Regions from separate parts of the Homo sapiens genome. Here region 2 is linked to region 1. Evidence: promoter capture Hi-C in 16 types of primary human blood cells and fetal thymus (Javierre and others, 2016). All regions are on one chromosome and are shown on one strand. The core of a region is centred on a gene start or on the middle of the fragment in contact, and the rest is flanking DNA. Distances in the headings are between cores, read along the strand shown. Region 1 holds the start of KDM1A (lysine demethylase 1A). Region 2 holds the start of LINC01355 (long intergenic non-protein coding RNA 1355).

The links. Contacts are between HindIII fragments. The CHiCAGO score rates a contact against its expected background, and 5 or more counts as called.
Region 2: a contact is called between a fragment that was not itself captured here and the fragment with the promoter of KDM1A in region 1, in 2 of 17 cell types (M2 macrophages and M1 macrophages). The highest score is 5.7, in M2 macrophages.

What each region holds. Positions count from the first base shown.
Region 1 is chr1:23,016,335-23,021,407 of GRCh38, reverse strand. KDM1A (lysine demethylase 1A) reads right to left here and starts at 1,940. Exons shown (of 21, transcript NM_001009999.3): 1 at 1,461-1,940. The coding sequence starts at 1,811. RefSeq lists enhancers at 763-1,448, 1,449-2,136 and a silencer at 1,624-1,693. The HindIII fragment of the contact is 11,360 bases long and covers 1-5,073 here.
Region 2 is chr1:23,280,435-23,286,265 of GRCh38, reverse strand. LINC01355 (long intergenic non-protein coding RNA 1355) reads left to right here and starts at 748. Exons shown (of 2, transcript NR_110616.1): 1 at 748-1,156; 2 at 1,856-4,957. The HindIII fragment of the contact is 1,545 bases long and covers 2,697-4,241 here.

The DNA.
Region 1 (5,073 bases), core at 691-3,190:
TTACAGGAGTGAGCCACTGTGCCCAGCCAATAAATCTGTTTTTAAAAACATCTTATACGTGGCTTCTGGCCACCTGTCTATTGAAATCGTAAAATAACACTCTTGACTTCTGCCCTTTATTTCATTTCTGAGGGCTGGTGTCACCAACCTCTGTGCTTTTCTAACCCATGCTTTGGTAAAAGCTCCAGAAAGTCTTGCCTCCAAAACGGTCTTTCATCCAGCACTGGTTATACTTTAGAGAGTTGGCTCAAGTAGGCAGATAAATATGAGAGCTCTCAGACTGGGTAATACTCATCTCAAGAAGCTCCCCATACACACTGACTTGGTATTCCCACTTAAAAATTATGTAGACAATTTTTTCAGGCATAAATTATATAATCTGCAAATTTTTATTTAAATGTTGACTACACGCACATATATATCCAGGTTGTTTTTTCCAACTAGACCGACCATTAAATCTCCAGAAAAGGCCCAAGTCTAAAGTCTGCGCCCTAATACTGCCCCAGTGCCCTGCACACAGTGTCCCATGTGGTCCTTTGTTTCAAGGGCTGATGATACCCTGTAACAACATGAATGTGGGAATTACATTCCACTTCCATCACTTATTTAGCTTTGTGACTTTAGGCAAGTTGCTTAAATTGTGTGCCTCAGTTTACTCATTCCTAAAATAGGGCTAGCAATACCTGCCCGTTGATATTTAACAACAACAAAAAAAAGTAATGTTGGTGACACGCTGAATATAGCATCTAGGACACAGACATTTGAGGCAGTCACTGTCTGTATATACTGTTTGGAGTCAAATCTTTTCTTCCCATATATTTGCATTTTGACTATTATTTGCTCTCTCAATCAGCAGCTTCCTCATCTGCAAAATTCTGCGCCAAAAGATCGCTGAGAGGATTTTAAAAAAGAAAAAAAAAAAGACTAGAACTCCTACCACACAGCAGGGTTTTGCTCAAACAAAAACAAAAGCAAAAACGACCCTTTCTTTTCATCTCCCCGGCTAAGGCGATTTCTTCAGCATCAACCTACAGCCCCCTCGTGCACCCAGCTGAAACGCCATCAATATCGCCCAACAGCTTCCAGACCTATCTGTGAACAAACAAGTGAGGTCTCCAAGAACGCCAACCGTAACCCCACGTCAGGGAGCCATTTTCCAGTCAAGAAAATGAAAAGGTGTGCAAGAAAGACCTAAGGAATAAAATACCCCTCCCAGCAATCATCGATGCCCCTTCCCACGTCGCTCGGGACCCAGCACAAAGACCGCAGTCAACACCGGCAAAGACTTTTCCTTTCTCACCCCACCCGTCCAGCTAGAGGGGACGTGGCGTGCGCAGCGATACAAGGGGAGGTCTGAGTGGTCGCAGGGCCCAAGACCCGGCGGCGGCGGGGGAGGGCGGAGAAGCCTCGGGGAAGCTCGGCACCAGGCGGTGTCGTTTGAGGGAAGGGTCGAGCCTTACCTTCGCCCGCTTGCGCCGGCTGGTCCGACGCCCCTCCGGAGTCTCTGCTATTCCAGTTTCCATGGGGGTCGCAGACCCAGGCACGACAGTAGGGCCGGCCTGAGGCCCTGCGGACCCCGGCGGTTCCGCCAGGCCCCCGGGGGGCGAGGCCCGCGGAGGCTCTTTCTTGCGGGGTGTGCGCTCCCCCACCGCCCCCGGCCCGACCTCGGCTGGGCCCGACAGGCCCGCGGGCTGCGCGGCCACCTCAGACCCGTTCTCGGAGCCGCCTGCTGTCCCAGGGCCAGCCTCCGTCCCGGTTGCTGCCGCTGCAGCCGCCGCCGCCGCGGCTGCCGCCTTCTTCCCAGATAACATCTCGGGCCGCCGGGCCGCCGACGGCCGTAGGGGCCGCTCGCTCTGTCGCTCCGTGGGTCCGAAAAGCCTTGCCTCGCCTCGCTTCACGCTGCCCGCGCGCCGCCAACCGCCGTCGCGTACGCACGCGCCAAGCGCGCTCCCGCCGCGCCGGGACAAAAAGGGTCGGAGACACCCACGAGCCCCGCCCCTCCCCCGCAGCCATAGAGCGGCGTTCTCGCGGCTAGAGTGGCACCGCAGCAAAGAACGTGTAGCTTGCCTAGAGCGTCTCCCCGGCGTTTGGAGTGGGACCTGGCACAGTCCGTGGTCTTAGGGCTTCTGGGCCAGACTAAACCTCCGAAGGTGACCATTTCCTCCAGGGACTTTCGGGTTTGCATGCGTGCGTTCGTTCATTCACTCACCCAATTATTCGTTAATTCAACCAGTATTTATTAATGCTTGCCTACTACGTAACAAGGGTTACATTATGAAGTTCTAGCTTTCAAAGAACTTACAGTCTAATGGGGGAAAACACTGAAATATGTTGGTAGAGCGTCTTACTTATTCATAATTGCCCTGCTTGGACTGGGCAAAAAACTTGGAGAGCACAGCAGTTTCGATGGTAGTAAAATGGAGACAAGTTACGAAATCCAGGTTTGAGTCCAGACGGAATTGCTCTTGTCTCCAAGCCTTTGTTCATGCTTTTCCTTCTGGCTGGACCCCAACCTCATTCGCACTCCATGTCTTGCGCTTCTCCCATCCCCCATGTCCCCCATCCCCCATGTCCCCCATCCTTCATGTCCCCCATCCCCATCCACATAACACCTCTTTCTACTCCAGGTTAATTCTTTCTAATAATGATAGTAGCGGTTTATTCTTTTAATTTTTCGAGGAATCCCTTGCTAACCCAAAACTGGAACAGGTCGTGTACTTTTAGCATGCGTGTACTTATTACACAAACAATTGTCTTTTTAATAGTCTGTCTCTTCGAAGTGAAATTGTCAAAAAATTATTCCATTTACATGAAGTTCAAGAACTGGTAAAACTAATCTCCAGTAATAGGCTCCAATCAGCCCTTGCCTGAGATGGGGGTCGGGGGTTGACTGCAAAAGAACAAGAAAGAACTTGCTGGGGGTGATGGAAATGTTTTATATCTTGATTAGGGTGATGGTTACATAGGTGTATATATTTGTCAAAACTCTATGAACTATCCATGTAAAACAGGTATGTTTTATGTAACTGTAGTACTTCAGTAAAGTTGTTTTTTGTAAAAAACTAAGCAAACAGACAAAAAGGCAATCAAATGTAGAAAGGAAAAAAAGTAAAAGCTATGCAAGAAAGAAAATGTATCCGAGTGGCGTGGCACGCACTTGTAGTACCAGCTGCTCGAGAGACTGAGGTGGGAGAATCACTTGAGCCTAGGAGTTCATTCAAGTCCAGCCTGAGCAACATAGTGAAACTGCGTTTCTAAAAAAAAAGAGAAAAGAAAAAGAAAGAAAATATAATCATAGTACAACATATGGCTCAGCTGTGAACTGTATTAACATGACCATAAAAACGTAAGCAGTGAATATTGTTTTATTTATTTTTTCTGTTCTTTTGTTTGTTTGTTTCTTCTTTTTTTTTTTGAGACAGAGTCTTGCTCTGTTGCCCAGGCTGGAGTGCAGGGGTGCAATCTTGACTCAATGCAACCTCTGCCTCCCAAGTTCAAGCGATTCTCCTGCCTCAGCCTCCCCAGTAGCTGGGATTACAGGCGTGTGCCACCATGCCTGGCTAATTTTTGTATTTTTAGTAGAAACAGGGTTTCGCCATGTTGGCTAGGCTTGTCTCCAACTCCTGACCTCAAGTGATCCTCCCACCTCGGCCTCCCAAAGTGCAGGGATTACAGGTGTGAGCCACCGCGCCCCGCCGAGCAGTGAATATTGTTTTAACCAAAGTGATAGAATTACATTAAGAGAATGGAGAAAAAAGAAAGTTTGTGGGGAGAAAGATGAGAAGGTTTTAAGGATTTAGGGAAGTAGGGAGGTTGTTGGGGGAGGTGCTGCTTGGGAGCTAAATTATTTTTCACCATAAAAATATAATACATAATGTTGGCCAGGCGCGGTGGCTCATGCCTGTAATCCCAGCACTTTGGGAGGCCGAGGCGGGCAGATCACGAGGTCAGGAGATCAAGACCGTCGTGGCTAACACGGTGAAACCCCGTCTCTACTAAAAATACAAAAAAACTGGCCGGGCATGGTGGCGGGCGCCTGTAGTCCCAGCTACTCGGAGGCCGAGGCAGGAGAATGGCGTGAACCCAGGAGGCGGAGGTAGCAGTGAGCCGAGATCGCGCCGCTGCACTCCAGCCTGGGCGACAGAGCGAGACTCCGTCTCAAAAAAAGTATATATATATATATATATATATATATATATATATATATATATATATATATATATATATATAAAATACATAATGTCAAAATTGAGAAATCAAAAAATAATATAAGCATACTATTTAGAAATATCAAGGTAAATACAGAAGAAACAGCTAAAAAAGTTGGAATTGGTTGTCTCTAAGGCTTGGAACTTGACGGTGGAAAGAGGTGAGGCAGTGGATTGGAGCTTGTTTTAAATCCTGTAGTTCTATCTGACTTGTTTGCACATTTAATAGTTTGATAAAACTTGAAATTAGATGTTAAAAACATACATACCCTTTGACCAAGTAATTCTACTTTCAGGAAAGCATTCTAGGGAAAGATTCAGTATGTGTACAGATTTAACTTCAACACTGTGTATCTCAGGTTATACGTAATGACGATAAAGGAGAACTAACCTAAAAACCCAACAAAGGCCAGGCACAGTGACTTGCATCTGTAATGCCAGCATTTTGGGAAGCCGAGGTGGAAGGATTGCTTGAGCCCAGGAGTTTAAGGCTACAGTGAGCTATGGTCACGCCACTGCACTCCAGCCTGGGCAACAGAGCAAGACCCTGTCTCTAAAACAATAAAAATTTTAAAAAGCCCCAACAAGTGGTAACCAATTTGATACAATCATACACCGCATAACAATGTTTCCATCAACAACAGACTGCATATGAGATAGTGTTCCCATAAAATTATATAACACATTTTTACCATACCTTTTCTACCTTTTCTATGTTTAGACAGAATTGCTACAGTATTCAGTACAGTAACATGCCATACAGGTTTGTAGCCTATTAACAATACACTATACCATATAGCCTAGGTGTGTAGTAGGCTATACCATTTAGGTTTGTGTTAAGTATGCTCTATGATGTTCACACAAC
Region 2 (5,831 bases), core at 2,220-4,719, 260 kb before region 1:
TCTTAGGACGTAGTTTACATTTGACTCTGCTTACTGTGTCCAGGGCATCCCCAAATTGGGAGAGATTGCCAAGTCAGTTGCCATTTTGCCTTACTTTTACCAAGGACTAGCCTACAGGTTCAGTTTTGCTCTTGACTTTGGCCCTGAATTGAGAACTGAGTCAAGAGAACAGAGTGGAAGTATGGAGACAAAGCCAGCAGCTTTACTCAAAAAATATATATGAGTCTAGTATTTTTTTTGTTTTTGAAAGACATGTTACTGAGCCCAACCCAGTCAGGGATCACTGAATATTGGGTTAAATAAAACAATAATGTTATTCATGTGTTTGAAATTAATGTTTTAAAGAACCACGCACACACTTTAAAATGTAACTGGATTTGCTATATAGGCCAGAGAAATATGGCTGTTACGATGAAGGCGTAACTTCTCTGGTTCTTGATTATTTACACCATTAGAGAAGAATGCAAATATGAATAGCTCAGAGTAGTTTAACTTTGAAGTGAGAGTTTATATGCACCTTTATATGTGGGATAACTGATGTCTTTGGAATAGACTTCAAATGAATGATAAAAACACCTGTAAAGTGATAGGACCTCTACTTTTTCTCATGTCCAATGTTCAGTTTCTTATAAACCAGGCATGAAGAGAAACAAAAAGTAATTAATTCTCCAGATCATGAAGTTGTCTTCAACCTAAGCACAGAGGTATAATAATTACATTTCTCAGAAGTTCCCCCTCTGTTTTGAGTCTCAAGGGCAATTGAGATGTCAGTGAGGCTGTGATTAAATGTATTGGATATTAGAGGATTTTAAATACAAACAAGTATTATAGGTGTTACCACTGACCCCGAAGGTAAGATTTACTGTGAAAATTTATAATGCAAGGAAGAATGATCAAGTTGGCTGTCAGAACAACAAAATATTACAAACCAGGATGTCTAAGAGCAGAAGTCCGTGGTTGCCACCTCTCAAGCCTCTTAGCTTAATCCAATCTAGGATGCATTTCCACTCTGCAACAAACAGTATTTATTTTTGCCTTATTTGCAGATAACAGTTTTAATGCAGGTACTGCCCATGGATTAGCTTTGAGCAGTGTCTTTTTGCTTTGGTTTTTTTATTTGTTTGGTTTGTTTTGAGACTGAGTCTCAGTCCTCCAGGCTGGAGTGCAGTGGTGTGACTTTGGCTCACTGCAACCTCTGCCTCCCGGGTTCAAGCGAGTCTCCTGCCTCAGCCTCCCAAGTAGCTGAGTCTACAGGCGTGAGCCACCATCCCCGGCCAAGCAGTATCTTTTTGCTTTGAAAGTGACTTACATGTACATTTGTTTTCCTTGTGAATGTTTCTTTTTAACTGCAAACTAAGAAACATTGAGCCCAGCATTCATATATTTGCAAACTCTGTCTTACTTAATTTCTCAGTTTTTTTCCTCAGAAAAAATGAAATTCCTTTTCTTTTTTAAATTTATTTTTTCTTTATTTTTCTTTATAAAGTGAAGAGTAGGTAGCATGAATTCCTCTTGCCCTTTGCTATTTCAGTCTGGCATCAGTAGCAATTGTTGCTATGTCCAGTTTTCATTCATGGATTTTTCTGGGATTGAAGATGAGTTCAATGTTGATTATTTAATTGGGCAGTATAAGTAAATTCATTGGCTCTCCTTCCAGTTTAGTGAATACTAAATATCATCCATGATATTTTATACTTCTTACACTTCTGGAATCTAACCTGAAAATAGAAGTTGTAAGTCAGGGACGGTGGTATGTGCCTCTAGTCTCAGCTAGTTGGGAGGCTGAGGCTTGAGCCCAGGCCTTCAAGGCTGTAGTGCACAATGACTGTACTTGTGAATAGCCACTGCACTCCAGCCTGGGCAACATAGCAAGACTCCCACCCCTTAAGAAAAAAGAAGAGAGAAAAAAATAGAAGTTGTGGAGAGGGAGGAGGATGCTTGAATACTTTGACCGTACTTGGCATAATAGACATTTTGAGGGTTTTTTTGTTTTCTTAAAATTCCTCTGGATCAGTTTTCATTGTTTCTAGTAATTATATTTATCGTTAATGAATTCATATTCTGCTCTAGCCCCTAAAGATAGTTTGATATGCTAACTTTTGTTTTGCCTTTCTAGCTGCTAAGATAGATAATGGTTATTGCAAAATGCACGTTTTTAAATGGTCTCCAGTGTGGATTGCTTCTGAGCTGCTGATGGATTGAATACATTGAGAAGGAATGTGTCATTTGGAATCCAGGACCAGTCAGCAAGGATAACTGCCTGATTTTATGGTCAGAATGCTCTAACTCTTATGGCATACTGATGACTTTTTCTTCCATTTTCCAAAAAAGCAAGTTTTGTCAGTCTCAGTGTTTCTCTGATCTAGCTACTCACAATTCCATTCCCAAAGTAGTGACCTAGTTCTGTCACTTGGGTTTCAAAGGGAGTTGAAGTGTCACTGAGTGAGTACAGCAAACCTGTTTAATGATTTATAGGAAGCAAATAAAAAGAATTTTGTTTGCTAACCTAGAAGTATATCAGATTTTGGTTTCAATTTATAATTTTGCAAAATATAAAGACATTTCCTGGCTAACTCCATCCAGATGAATTATTCAGTATTTTTTCTCCTATCTTAATGAAGTTAATTTGAATGCTAATTTCCTATAACCAAGAAAACAGTTGAATTAAATAACCCTTATCTTTTAAACTTAAAGCTTATACTACTAATAATCATTTAACATTCACTTCCTTTTTTCTGACTTAATTGGTAGGTAAATAAAATACTTCAAATTTGATTGGCAAATTGGAAAATCACTTAGAACAATCTGCTAGTATTTTTTATTCCCTTTGTTTTTTCCTTTACACATTTGTACTGCAAAATAAATCAAGGACAAAGACTCACACTGAATTGATCAACTTGTGTTTGGTCTTCATGGGAATTACATCTTTTTTCCCCTCAACATTTATTAAAGGAACATACAGAATTTCAGACTATAGCAAACTAATACCTTTAGCTTGACTAAGAGTTGATTTTCGTTAAGGAACAGAACTTGTAATTTATTTCGACATACTTTAATGTATGACTCATCCCTGTTAAAGTTGTGAGACTCAAAACTACGCCCAAATCACTTAATTTTATGTCCTTCCCTGTTTACTGTGTCTGACCTTCAAGATTTCGTGACTGATGCTGAAATGGAAGCCAACCACTGCAGAAATTTGGGGGAAAATGAGATCTGAAGAATACAAGGGGAAGTAGGAATTCATTTCTAGCATTTCCAAACCTGCTTAATCGTGTCTGCTCCACCACAGTCAGAGGAAAAGACTGAGTTCATGGAAATTACCAGCTAAGCCTTACATCTGTCTTTAATGTTTTTAGGAAGTATACTGAAAAGGTAAGTGAGATGTCTGTTTTGAAGAAAGACTCTTACTGGGTACCTTAAAACCCGTTGTTTCCTATTAGTAAAGATGGGCAGCTTCTTTATTCCTAGCTTCAAAAAGCCTTGCCCCTGTTTGGTGTGTTTCTCAGTATTGTGGAGAAGGTAGTTTCTGAGCAAGGTGGTGCTTTTCCTCTGCTTCTCAGCAGCTAAGACAGAAATTGCACCGAAGTGTACAAAGGGCCAATTTTTGTTGTCCTGTTGTGCTCAAATCCTTTTTTTTAAAAAAGTTATTTCAATCAAGTCTTAGTTTTATTCCTCACTATATAGGAAAAAAATCTTTAATGCCTCAAAAGTTCCATTCAGCATTACATTTGCATTACTCTTATTTGCAGCAAATATGAGTAAAATTATAGGTTTTTAAAGGTCTCTAATAACATCCACTTATATTGGTTTTGTAGATAATCCATAAATTACCAGAAATAAATTATTCCACATTTATTACACACCCATGTAATAGATGTCGTGCCAGGCCCTGGAATATACTAATGGCATCACCTCATGTGGTAAAAAGACACATTCCGCCATCCTGGAGTATACAAAGGTAGACTAGCATATAGTTCATGTGCTCAAGGAGTTCATTTTTATTGACATGATACAGATAGAATTGTAGTTTAGGGAATCAAAATCTAATAAAATGAGGCTAATTCCATTTTCCCATTAACACTAATAACTAGTGTGTAAATCTGAATATGACACATTCTATATGAAAGAAGCTCTGTGTGCATCTACACTAAATACTCGTGTGTGCCAGGTACTGTTTTAAACTACGTATATTTTTTTAATTCTCATAACTGTTCTCTGAGGTATGTACTAATACTAAAGCTTATTGTTAAAGGAAGGCAGAAAAATTAAGTAACTTGGCCTAAGTTTGCATAACTGTGATCTGGGATCAATATTTGAACCCATACAGGCTGATTGCAGAGCCTGCACTCTTAATTTGAGTGTGATATTTATGTGCAGTACCTGGCTATAAGTACCCACAAAACGTTTCAAATTCTTTATAAAATTTGCTTAGTTAAAAAAGTACCAATTGCATAATATGGTTATAAGTCTGGTAGAAGTTAGGCTTTTTACAAGACATGCTGCTTACTGCACCAAGGAGGCAAGAAGGCTTTTTAGAGAGCCCAGAATTTCCTTTCCTCAACTCCTGCTTCCAAGACAGTCATTTTGCATGATAACCGTTTCCCCAAAAAACACAGACACAAAATTTAAAGAACTGGAACAGAGGAAGCAGAGCTTATCATAGTATATATGTTTAGTACCCTGTCACTTAGGTCCACCCCTCTTTCTTTGTGGATTGTGGACATTTTGTTTAACTGCTAAATCATGAGAATATATGACTGCTGAGACTTTTCCAAGGATTTTTTAAAAAACACATTAGGCTTTGTGCAGAAGTAAAGAAAAAGTGCTGTGAGAACCCCAGGTAGGTAATTTACTTTCTATTGTACTCATAGTTTGTTTGAAACCTCTTCACCTCTATCCCTTATTGTTTTATACTCTGTAAATCTGATTTTACCTTTAATAAACTTTTCTGAAGTGAGTGAGTTTTTTTTGTCTTATTTCCCATTAGATTCTCTACCTTCTTTGTTCACTTTACGTATGTTATTGCCACTCCCTTCAAAACTGGTGGTTTAATTAAAGTGACAGCATCTTCTATATACCCAGTACTGTTGAGGATTAAAAAATACATGTGTGCCGGATGTGGTGGCACACACCTATAATCCTAGCACTTTGGGAGGCCTCAGGCAGGAGGATTGCTTGAGCTAAGGAGTTCGAGACCAGCCTGGTCAACGTGGCAAAACCCCATCTCTACTAAAAAGACAGAAAGTTAACTGGGCCTGATGTTGTGCACCTCTCACCCCAGCTACTTGGGAGGCTGAGAGGTGGGAGGGTCACTTGATCCTGGGAGGTCAACGCTGCAGTGAGCTGAGAACAAGCCACTGCACTCCAGCCTGGGCGACAAAGCGAGACCCTGTCTCAATAGAAAAAAGAAAAAGTGCCAAGGCTTTGCTCCTAGTTCGGTGCAGGTTCCAACCAGTACTAAAACTTTGCAAATTTTTGAGGGAAAAACCAGAAGTTGTAGAATCAATATGAGCATTTAATTGTATAGCAAGCAATTGTGGCAGAAAAAATTCACCCTAGTGAAATCAAGTTAACTATTCTGTGAATGAGATTAACCAGAGGAACAATTTTGACCATGTATCTTTTAAATCACTGTTTCTCAAACTTCAGTGTGTATGGGAATCACCAGGGATCTTGTTAAAATGCAGATTTTGATTTAGTAGGTCTGGGGTCAACCTGGAGAATTTGAATTTATTTTCTCTTTTTTTAAAAGTAGTTTGAAATATATTTCACATACCATAAAATTCACTCTTTAAAACTGTCCAATTAACTGTTTTTTAGCATGTAGAGTT